Regions from separate parts of the Homo sapiens genome. Here regions 1 and 3 are each linked to region 2. Evidence: promoter capture Hi-C in human tissues and cell types (Jung and others, 2019). All regions are on one chromosome and are shown on one strand. The core of a region is centred on a gene start or on the middle of the fragment in contact, and the rest is flanking DNA. Distances in the headings are between cores, read along the strand shown.

The links. The method cuts DNA at HindIII sites, captures the fragments that hold promoters and counts their contacts. A contact is called where the count stands out against the background at its distance.
Region 1: a fragment that was not itself captured here is called in contact with the fragment with the promoter of TULP1 in region 2 in 2 of the 25 tissues and cell types used here (heart left ventricle and lymphoblastoid cells).
Region 3: a fragment that was not itself captured here is called in contact with the fragment with the promoter of TULP1 in region 2 in 2 of the 25 tissues and cell types used here (aorta and spleen).

The regions. Positions count from the first base shown.
Region 1 is chr6:35,883,242-35,886,172 of GRCh38, reverse strand. The region is part of intron 6 of SRPK1 (SRSF protein kinase 1); the gene reads left to right. Among named protein-coding and RNA genes, the nearest start is that of SRPK1, 36 kb to the left of the region's middle. The HindIII fragment of the contact is 5,262 bases long and covers 1-2,931 here.
Region 2 is chr6:35,511,542-35,514,412 of GRCh38, reverse strand. It overlaps TULP1 (TUB like protein 1), which reads left to right and starts at 1,517. Exons shown (of 15, transcript NM_003322.6): 1 at 1,517-1,601; 2 at 1,723-1,774; 3 at 2,143-2,233; 4 at 2,607-2,765. The coding sequence starts at 1,555. The HindIII fragment of the contact is 7,738 bases long and covers 1-2,871 here.
Region 3 is chr6:35,798,882-35,802,021 of GRCh38, reverse strand. No RefSeq gene overlaps it. Among named protein-coding and RNA genes, the nearest start is that of CLPS, 3.1 kb to the right of the region's middle. The HindIII fragment of the contact is 4,164 bases long and covers 1-3,140 here.

The DNA of each region.
Region 1 (2,931 bases), core at 3-2,502, 370 kb before region 2:
GGAGGCAGAGGTTGCAGTGAGCCGAGATTGAGCCCACTGCACTCCAGCGTGGGGGACAGAGCCAGACTCTGTCTAAAAAAAAAAAAAAAAGATACTGTCTAAAAGAAAGAGAAAAAGAGAGAAAGAAAAAGAAAGGAAGAAAGAAACTGGATGAACAATTTAAGGTATGATTGTATTTATTATACTAAGCCTCAACTTTGAAGAGGCTGTGAATGTAGTTTATGTTTAGAGTCTAAAAGGGTGTAATTGTTCACATTCTATTATAATGAAAAACTGACTTGTTTTATGTTTTTATCTGGATGTTTTAGAACTGTAGAATTGAAAGGAACCATAGCTGATTTTCTTCACAGGTATCAAAGTGACGTGCGGTGAGCTAATGGAAAGGTTATTGCAACAGCTGTGCTTATAAAGGTCAATCAGATTTTTCAGTAAAAGATGAAGTCGAATCTTACTTAGATTGGATAAATCTAAAATCACCTGTTTATAAGCTGTTTTTAAAATGTATAAAGACATTTCATACATTATTTTACTTTTCATGCATGTTTAGCTTCCTTTAATGCACATTCCTAATTGCTGTTGATCTTTTTGTATTTAAAGGAGACAGGACTACATATGACTAGTTTCATGTAGACTATGGGAAGAGATTTGAACAGAGAAGCAGGAAGGAAGGGATGGGAAAGGAGAGAGAACAGCTGATAATGTGGAAAGACTATTGTTCTAAAGTCAATTCTGAGTCATTTCTTAGAAAAATACAAATCACAGATTACCCAGATGTCTAAGGAAAACTGCTGCAACCATCTTAAAACAGTATCTTGTGCTTATTGTGGTCACTTTGTAGATGGCTCTCTCTCTCTCTCTCTCTCTCTCTCTCTCTGTGTGTGTGTGTGTGTGTGTGTGTGTGTGTGTGTGTGTTCAAAGAATTAAGAATTCTAAACCAAGTAATTTTTTAAAAACCTACACAGGGTGTCGTGATGGCCATATCTGTTTTTTCTATTATTTAATCTTGTAATGTTTGTCATTGTGCCAGATTTCTTTACTAATTTGCAAAAGTTCCAAGTAAAACTATAGAAATACTCTCAAATCTCCCCAGTAATGCTGAGTACCTTTATTTGACCCTAACTAAGCAAAGAAGGCTTTTTAACTATTGAAATATCTTAGTAGGTTTGAATTTCAAGTTCCAAGATATTTTTCTTTTTCTTTTTTGGAGTTCAATGGCATAATCTCGGCTCACTGTAACCTCTGCCTCCTGGGTTCAAGTGATTCTCCTGCCTCAGCCTCCCGAGTAGCTGGGATTACAGGTGGATGCCACCACACCCAGCTAATTTTGTATTTTTAGTAGAGATGGGGTTTCACCATGTTGGCCAGGCTGGTCTCAAACCCCTGACCTCAGGTGATCTGCCCGCCTCGGCCTCCCAAAGTGCTGGGATTACAGGTGTGAGCCACCGTGCCCGGCCCCCAAGATATTTTTCAAACATTGCTAGGTGGTTTCTCTGTAGCTTCTGTCCATTGATTCCCTATTTTATTCTTTTCTCCATTTGTTCTTAGCCATTTTTTCCTGTCTTTCTTCATCCTTATCTCCCAGCTGTCTTTGCTCCTGCATTATTTACTACTGTTAGAGATTGAAAGGATATAACTCAAAACACTATGTTAAGGGTTAGTAATGGCTCATGTCACTCTCCTGCCTCTACCCGTTTTCCCAACATAACATACCCACACAGAGCAGTACATCCACATTCGTGTGTATGTTTGTTCAGGCGTTTTTTTCTCTGGACCACTATCGTTTCTCATATTAAAATATAAAGGGCCCTAAACTAGAAAGTTAGTTCTTACAGAATTCCATATAAACTGGCTCACTCTACTTGCCTGGAGGGTGAGGGGAAAAGAATGATTAAGAAGGAGGACAGTTGGTTTCTCTATATAATGTTGACATTAGCCAGTCATTATTGTCTGCTTATATGACCTCCTATGTCTTTAGGATACTTTTTTTTTCATGCTGTATTCTGTCTGTTTTGCTAGCTCCTCTTATTCATAATGTGCCCTAAATGTGCTTACTCAATAACATAAGCCTTTTATTTTCAGCCTTTTGTTATTTTCTTTACACTGTCTCCCCATTAGATTTTTTTAAAAATATAACCTTGTGGGCCGGGTGCAGTGGCTCACACCTGTAATCTCAGCACTTTGGGAGGCCGAGGTGGGCGGATCACGAGGTCAGGAGACCGAGACCATCTTGGCTAACACGGTGAAACCTCATCTCTACTAAAAATACAAAAAAAAGCTGGGCGTGGTGGCAGGCGCCTGTAGTCCCAGCTACTCAGAAGGCTGAGGCAGGAGAATGGCGTGAACCTGGGAGGAGGAGATTGCAGTGAGCCAAGATAGCGCCAACTGCACTCCAGCCTGGGCGACAGAGCAAGACTCCGCCTCAAAAAAAAAAAAAATAACCTTGTGATTTCAATTACTAGTGCTTCTGATTGCTACTCATTAGCTTTCTTTCACTCAAATTATTTGGCTCTTCCTTTTTGCCACTTGATTATGATGTTCTGTCAAGTTTTTTTTTAAGCTACTATATGTTTGGTCATTTTAATATCACTGCTTACAAATTAAAACATTTTCAAATTGTAATACTTCTCTCAACAAATAAAAATTAAGCAGATGGAAGCTAGAAACATAAGAGAATAGCTTTACAATCCTATTTTATGTTTAGTCTTTTTAAGTAATCTGCATTTTAAATAATCTTGTTTTGATAATTTTTTTTATTTAATTGCTTTTTTATTTTTATTTATTTTGAGACAGAGTTTCGTTCTTGTTGGCCAGGCTGGAGTGCAATGGCGCAATCTCGGCTCACTGCAACCTCCGCCTCCCAGGTTCAAGCGATTCTCCTTCCTCACCCTCCCGAGTAGCTGAGATTACAGATGCACACCACCACGCCCAGCT
Region 2 (2,871 bases), core at 268-2,767:
TGAGGGTGGAGTCAGAATGGGAGCAAGCCACAGTAGGTGGACAATAAATGCTATTATTATTATATGGTCAGAGCCAACTGAGGACTGAGGCCTCTCCGAAGTGGCGACTTGAGGACTGTTTAGAGTTGGATAGGTTTCATGGAATAGGGAGGGCGTTCCGGGAGGGAACAGCCTGAGCAAAGGCATGGAGGACAGAACTGTAAAGGCAGTAAGGAAACCTCTGTGGCTGGATGAAGAGTATGGCTTGGGATAACCCTGTGGTTAGAAAGGCAGACTGGGGCCAGATCAGGGAGAGCCTTGAATGTCAACCCAACACATTTAAACTTAATCCTTAGGCAGTAGGGAGCCAATGAATGTTTTTGAACAAAGGTGGCAACCGAAGAAATAGTATTTTAGAAAGTTCCATTTGATATGGATTTACTGTAATTAGCCAGGATCGTGCCACTGCACTCCAGCCTGGGTGACAAGAGCAAAATTCTGTCTAAAACAAAACAAAACAATACCACAAAAGCATGTCCCCTATCAGTGAAAAAAGAAAAAGAGTTAAGGGTATACCTCCAATACAGACATATTCTTTTTTTTTTTTTTTTTTCTGAGATGTAGTCTTGCTCTTTTTGGCCAGGCTGGAGTGCATTGGCAAGATCTCGGCTCACTGCAACCTCCGCCTCCCAGGTTCAAGTGCTTCTCCTGCCTCAGCCTCCCCAGTAGCTGGGACTACAGGTGCCCACCACGATGCCCAGCTAATTTTTTATTTATTTATTTATTTATTTTGAGACGGAGTCTCACTCTGTTGCCCAGGCAGGAGTGCAGTGGCATGATTTCCGCTCACTGCAAGCTCCGCCTCCCAGGTACACGCCATTCTCCTGCCTCAGCCTCCTGAGTAGCTGGGACTACAGGTGCCTGCCGCCATGCCCGGCTAATTTTTGCATTTTTAGTAGAGATGAGGTTTCACCATGTTAGCCAGGATAGTCTCGATCTCCTGACCTTGTGATCCGTCTGCCTCGGCCTCCCAAAGTGCTGGGATTACAGGGGTGAGCCACCGCACCCGGCTAATTTTTGAATTTTTAGTAGAGACTGGGTTTCACTGTGCCGGCCAGGCTGGCCTCGAACTCCTGACCTCAAATGATCCACCTGTCTCAGCCTCCCAAAGTGCTGGGATTACAGGTGTAAACCACCGCACCTGGCTCTAGTTCTTATTTTTTGTGAGAAATAAAGATAAATACAGGATCCAGTCTAATGTTTTCTTCCACATCCCATTGACAAATGACTAATCGGCCCCTCTCACCCCAAGCTTCTGGGGGCTTCTCGGGGCAGGTGGAGCTGGTGGCCATCCTGCAGGCTGCTGGGGATCTGAGAAGAACTGGAGTTGAGATTCTTCCCCCAGTGGCCTGGGCCTAGCAGGGGAGGGTCGTGGGCTGTAGCACCTCCCACAGCGCGGCCAGGCCTCCACTCCTTGAGCAGGGGGAAGGGGGGTGAAGTTGAGCCGAGATTAGCAGGAGTCGGGAGGGAGGCTCCTAGACCTGCAGAGAAAGGGGTGCGATAGGCAAAGGCACCATGCCTCTGCGGGATGAAACCCTCCGAGAGGTGTGGGCCTCTGACAGGTCTGGAAGGCCCCCAGTTCGTGGCACCTGAACCCTGGGGGGCCTAGATGGAGGGATGGGGAGTGGGTGGGATGGGGAGGGAAGGGGAAGGGAGACAGGCTGATCCCTTTGCTACCCTCAGTGGGCATGAAGAAGAAAGCCTGAGCCCGGAGGCCCCGCGGCGCCCCAAACAGGTATGCCACCCCACTTGGAAAGGAAGCAGAAAGATGTCCCCGCTGTGCGTAAACCCACGCAGGGTAGGGGGTCTAGGGGTGGGACAGGTCCCCCTTAGCAGGGTCTGGGGGTTGCATGTCTGGAGATCTGGGGGGAGAAAGGGCTGTTTGGGGACTTGGGGTTTCCAGGGAAGGAATAGGGACTTTGGAGCATTGGATATGGCCACGATGCATGGAAGGGGTCATCCTGCCTCACTCCAAGAAGGGGGCTGCAGTTCCCCCCGGATAATCTGCGGTTATTTCTGGCGGCTCAAGGGATTAGAGGGGGATGGGCGGGCCTCAGCGCCCCCCTTTCCTTCCTCGACCTCCTCTTGACCCCCGTTCCGCAGCGACCCGCCCCGGCACAGAGGCTAAGGAAGAAGAGGACGGAGGCCCCCGAATCCCCCTGCCCCACGGGATCCAAGCCCCGGAAGCCCGGAGGTGGGCGGGGTGCAGAGCCCGGGTGGACCCCCAGGGTGTGGGCTGCGGAAGGGAGGGGCTTGAGGGCCGGCGCGGGTGTCGCCGAGCCCTGGAACGGGGTGGGGGAGGAGGGGGCGGGGAGTGATGAGAGGGGAGGGATTGGGGTTGGGGTTGGGGTTGGGGTTGGTGTAGAAGGGGGTGGCGTTGGGGTAGAAGGGGGTGGGAAGCTGAATGGAAGCCGGGGAGAAGTGTTGAAAGTGGAAACCCAAGCCCAGGGGAGATCCCTAGGGTGAGGAGCCCGAGGGGGTGCGCCCAGGCTTGGGGGTAGCGGGTAGAGGCGCTGCCTCGCGGACCCGCGGATGGGACCCTGTCTGAACCCCGCATCTCGGCTCAGCTGGGCGGACGGGGAGGCCGCGGGAGGAGCCTTCCCCAGACCCAGCCCAGGCCCGGGCGCCGCAGACGGTCTACGCCAGGTTCCTCAGGGACCCCGAGGCCAAGAAGCGCGACCCCCGGGAAACCTTTCTGGTAGCCCGTGCCCCAGACGCGGAGGACGGTGAGAGAGGGCCCCAGGGACGCGGGTGAGGGGGCGGTGGAGCTAAGGAGAGAAGGGGCTGGCTGGACGGGAACGGCCCAGAGAGGCAGAAAACAACTGTAGTCAA
Region 3 (3,140 bases), core at 447-2,946, 290 kb before region 2:
CGCCTCGGCCTCCCAAAGTGTTGGGATTACAGGCGTGAGCCACCGCACCTGGCTCAGGTTGTTTTTAATAGTAAAAAAGTGGCTGGGTGCAGTGGCTGGCTCACACCTGTAATCCCAACATTAATAATAATTTTGAAGCTAGCTTATGTATTAAAGATTTTACTTACATTACATAAACTTGAAACAGCATTTGACTAGTCTTTTTTCCTGATAAAGTGTTCAAGTGCTTTTATTTTCTTAAGCCAATTAGAGCTCTTTTATTTATTTTCAGTAGTGAAACACTGTGCACACCACCCATAAATACATAGACATATCAGGCATGCCTATAGAAGTACATCTTACAGATTTATAAAAACCTTTTTTTTTCCTATTTTAATCTTTCAGATTCTTTTTGTTTGTTTTTGAGATGGAGTCTCGCTCTGTCACCTAGGCCGGAGTGCAGTGGTGCAATCTTGGCTCACTGCAACCTCTGCCTCCCAAATTGAAACAATTCTTCTGCTTCAGCCTCCCGAGTAGCTGGGATTACAGGTGCCTGCCACCATCCTCAGTTAATTTTTCTATTTTTAGTAGAGACGGGGTTTCACCAGGTTGGCCAGGAAGGTCTCAAACACCTGACCTCAAGAGTTATCAAATTCTTGATAACCTCTTTCACAACCCTAGGCAGTTGACAGCTAAATAGCCTTAAATTTGCATATTAAAGGAAACAGTTCAGATGAAAGTCAAACAGCAAAATTTACATTATAAGGTGCGCCAAGAAAAGTCTGGTGTTCTAGAGGGAAATTAAAACAGATTTAATTGCCAATTAAACATAAAAGTATGGAAATTATAAAGGCCTTTTAAACACACACACACACACACACACCTTGTAGCTTTTACTTCAGAACTTTTAGCCATGAAATAAATACAAATTCACCTGGCTTGCAAAAAGAACTTGTTGGATCTAAACAGTGGTTTTTCTCTTAATAGAAAAATAACAGCAGATTGCCGGGCGCGGTGGCTCACGCCTGTAATCCCAGCACTGTGGGAGGCCAAAGTGGGCGGATCACGAGGTCAGGAGTTCCAGACCAGACTGGCCAACATGGTGAAACCCCATCTCTACTAAAAATACAAAAAATTAGCTGGGTGTGGTGGCAGGCACCTATAATCCCAGCTACTCAGGAGGCTGAGGCAGGAGAATGACTTGAACCCGGGAGGCAGAAGTTGCAGTGAGATGAGATTGTGCCATTGCACTCCAGGCTGGGCAACAGAGTGAGACTCCATCGAAAGGAAGGGAGGGAGGAAGGAAGGAAGGAAGGAGGGAAGGAAGGAAGGAAGGAAGATTTAGAGCAGGCAGAAAAGAAAAATAGAGAAAAAGATGACTTAGGAATTCTATAGTTTGCAGGTCAACCTTAGGGCTCTTTTTCCTTAATGTAAATGTGCACAAAGACCACGTTATTTCCATTTTACATAAACTTTGTCAGGTAGAGGTGCCATAAAAGCTACGGAGTGCTCAAAAGGGGGTCATTTTCTTTGTTTTCTCCTCATTCTGAAACCACCTTTGCAAAATTATGACTGAGACAGTGAAAGAGATCTAACTTAAGTGACTCCATCTTGTTTCTAACCTCCAAGCTGTCCTTGTTCATTCCTAGGCGTAAGCTGAACTAACTTTGGGAGAAACTTAGTTTATAGTTTAAACAAAGACAGTAACAGCCCTTTCCCAAAGCTGACTTCATTCTTGCCTGGGGACTAGATTGCCTTTGTAGGACTAACATTAGCCACAAGATTAGAAATTATGGTTTAGGAGTCACGCAGCTGGAGGCTACAAGATCCTGATCCTCCCTAAACTACTCCTAAGATCAGTGCTTGAGATATTTTGCTGACCCTGCACTTGATGGATCAGCTGGCCCCACCCAGATCAATAAACTGGCTCATCTGATCTTGTGGCCCTCACCCAGTAATTGACTGGGTGCACGAAGACAGCTCTGAGTCCCTATGATTTCATCTCTGACCAATCATCACCCCTGGCTCACTGGCTTCCCCCCACCCACCAAGTTATCTTCAAAAACTCTGCTCCCTGCTGGGCATGGTAGCTCATGCCTGTAATCCCAGCACTTTGGGAGACTGAGGCAGGTGGATCACTTGAGGTCAGGAGTTCAAGACCAGCCTGACCAACATGGTGAAACCCCATATCTACTAAAAATACAAAATTAGCCGAGCATGGTGGCACATGCCTGTAATCCCAGCTACTCGAGAGGCCGAGGCAGGAGAATCACTTGAACCCAGGAGGCGGAGGTTGCAGTGAGCCAAGATCATGCCATTGCACTCCAACCTGGGCAACAAGAGCGAAACTCTGTCTCAACAGCAACAACAACTCTAAAACTCTAGTCTCCTGCACCTGCACAGCCGGCTCTGCATGAAATACTCTTTCTCCACTGCAATTCCCCTGTCTTGATGAATCGGCTCTATCTAGGTAGTGGGCAAGGTGAACCCCTTCAGTGGTTACATCCTGAGGGCTGTGTCACAGGCCATGGTTGCTCATATTTGGCTCAGAATAAATCTATTCAAATATTGTACAGAGTTTGACTCTTTTCATTGACAGGTACTTAATTTTTGCTTTCCTTTTAGAAGCACATACAGTGTCAAAGTTCTCTTTGCTACACTTCATTTGTAATGGAAAAAACTCCAGCCTTTTTTCTTTGCAAGCTTGGCTGAGACCAACTAGGGACAGGGCTGATGGTTTTCACAGCTCCCTTCATGGAGAGAAATCACTCCTCTGATTCCTTTGCCAGTCTCCATCTTGACTTGTGAGAAGGGAATAGTGATTCCCTTCTCTGTGGCTCACCTCACAGAGGTCCTGGGGGTGGGGAGCAGGTAGAGAAAAGAGAAGGAAGGATCAGAGTGAACTCATAGGAAAAAGTGCTTTCAAACATTGAGTTCTATAAAAGAGAGGGGGGATAGTGTTCTTTCATCAATGGTATTTCTGCATCGCTGGAACCAAATTGGTTTTTCTCATTTTGAGAGTCTCCTGGTTGTTCCTCCAGCTATTTCTCTACATTCCACACCCCAGGGATGTAAAGGTGAGAGGAAGGGGGTCATATTACATGGCTGGGCACCCACCATGTGCCAGGCACTTCCGAAGGTGTTCCACGTGCATTGTCTTA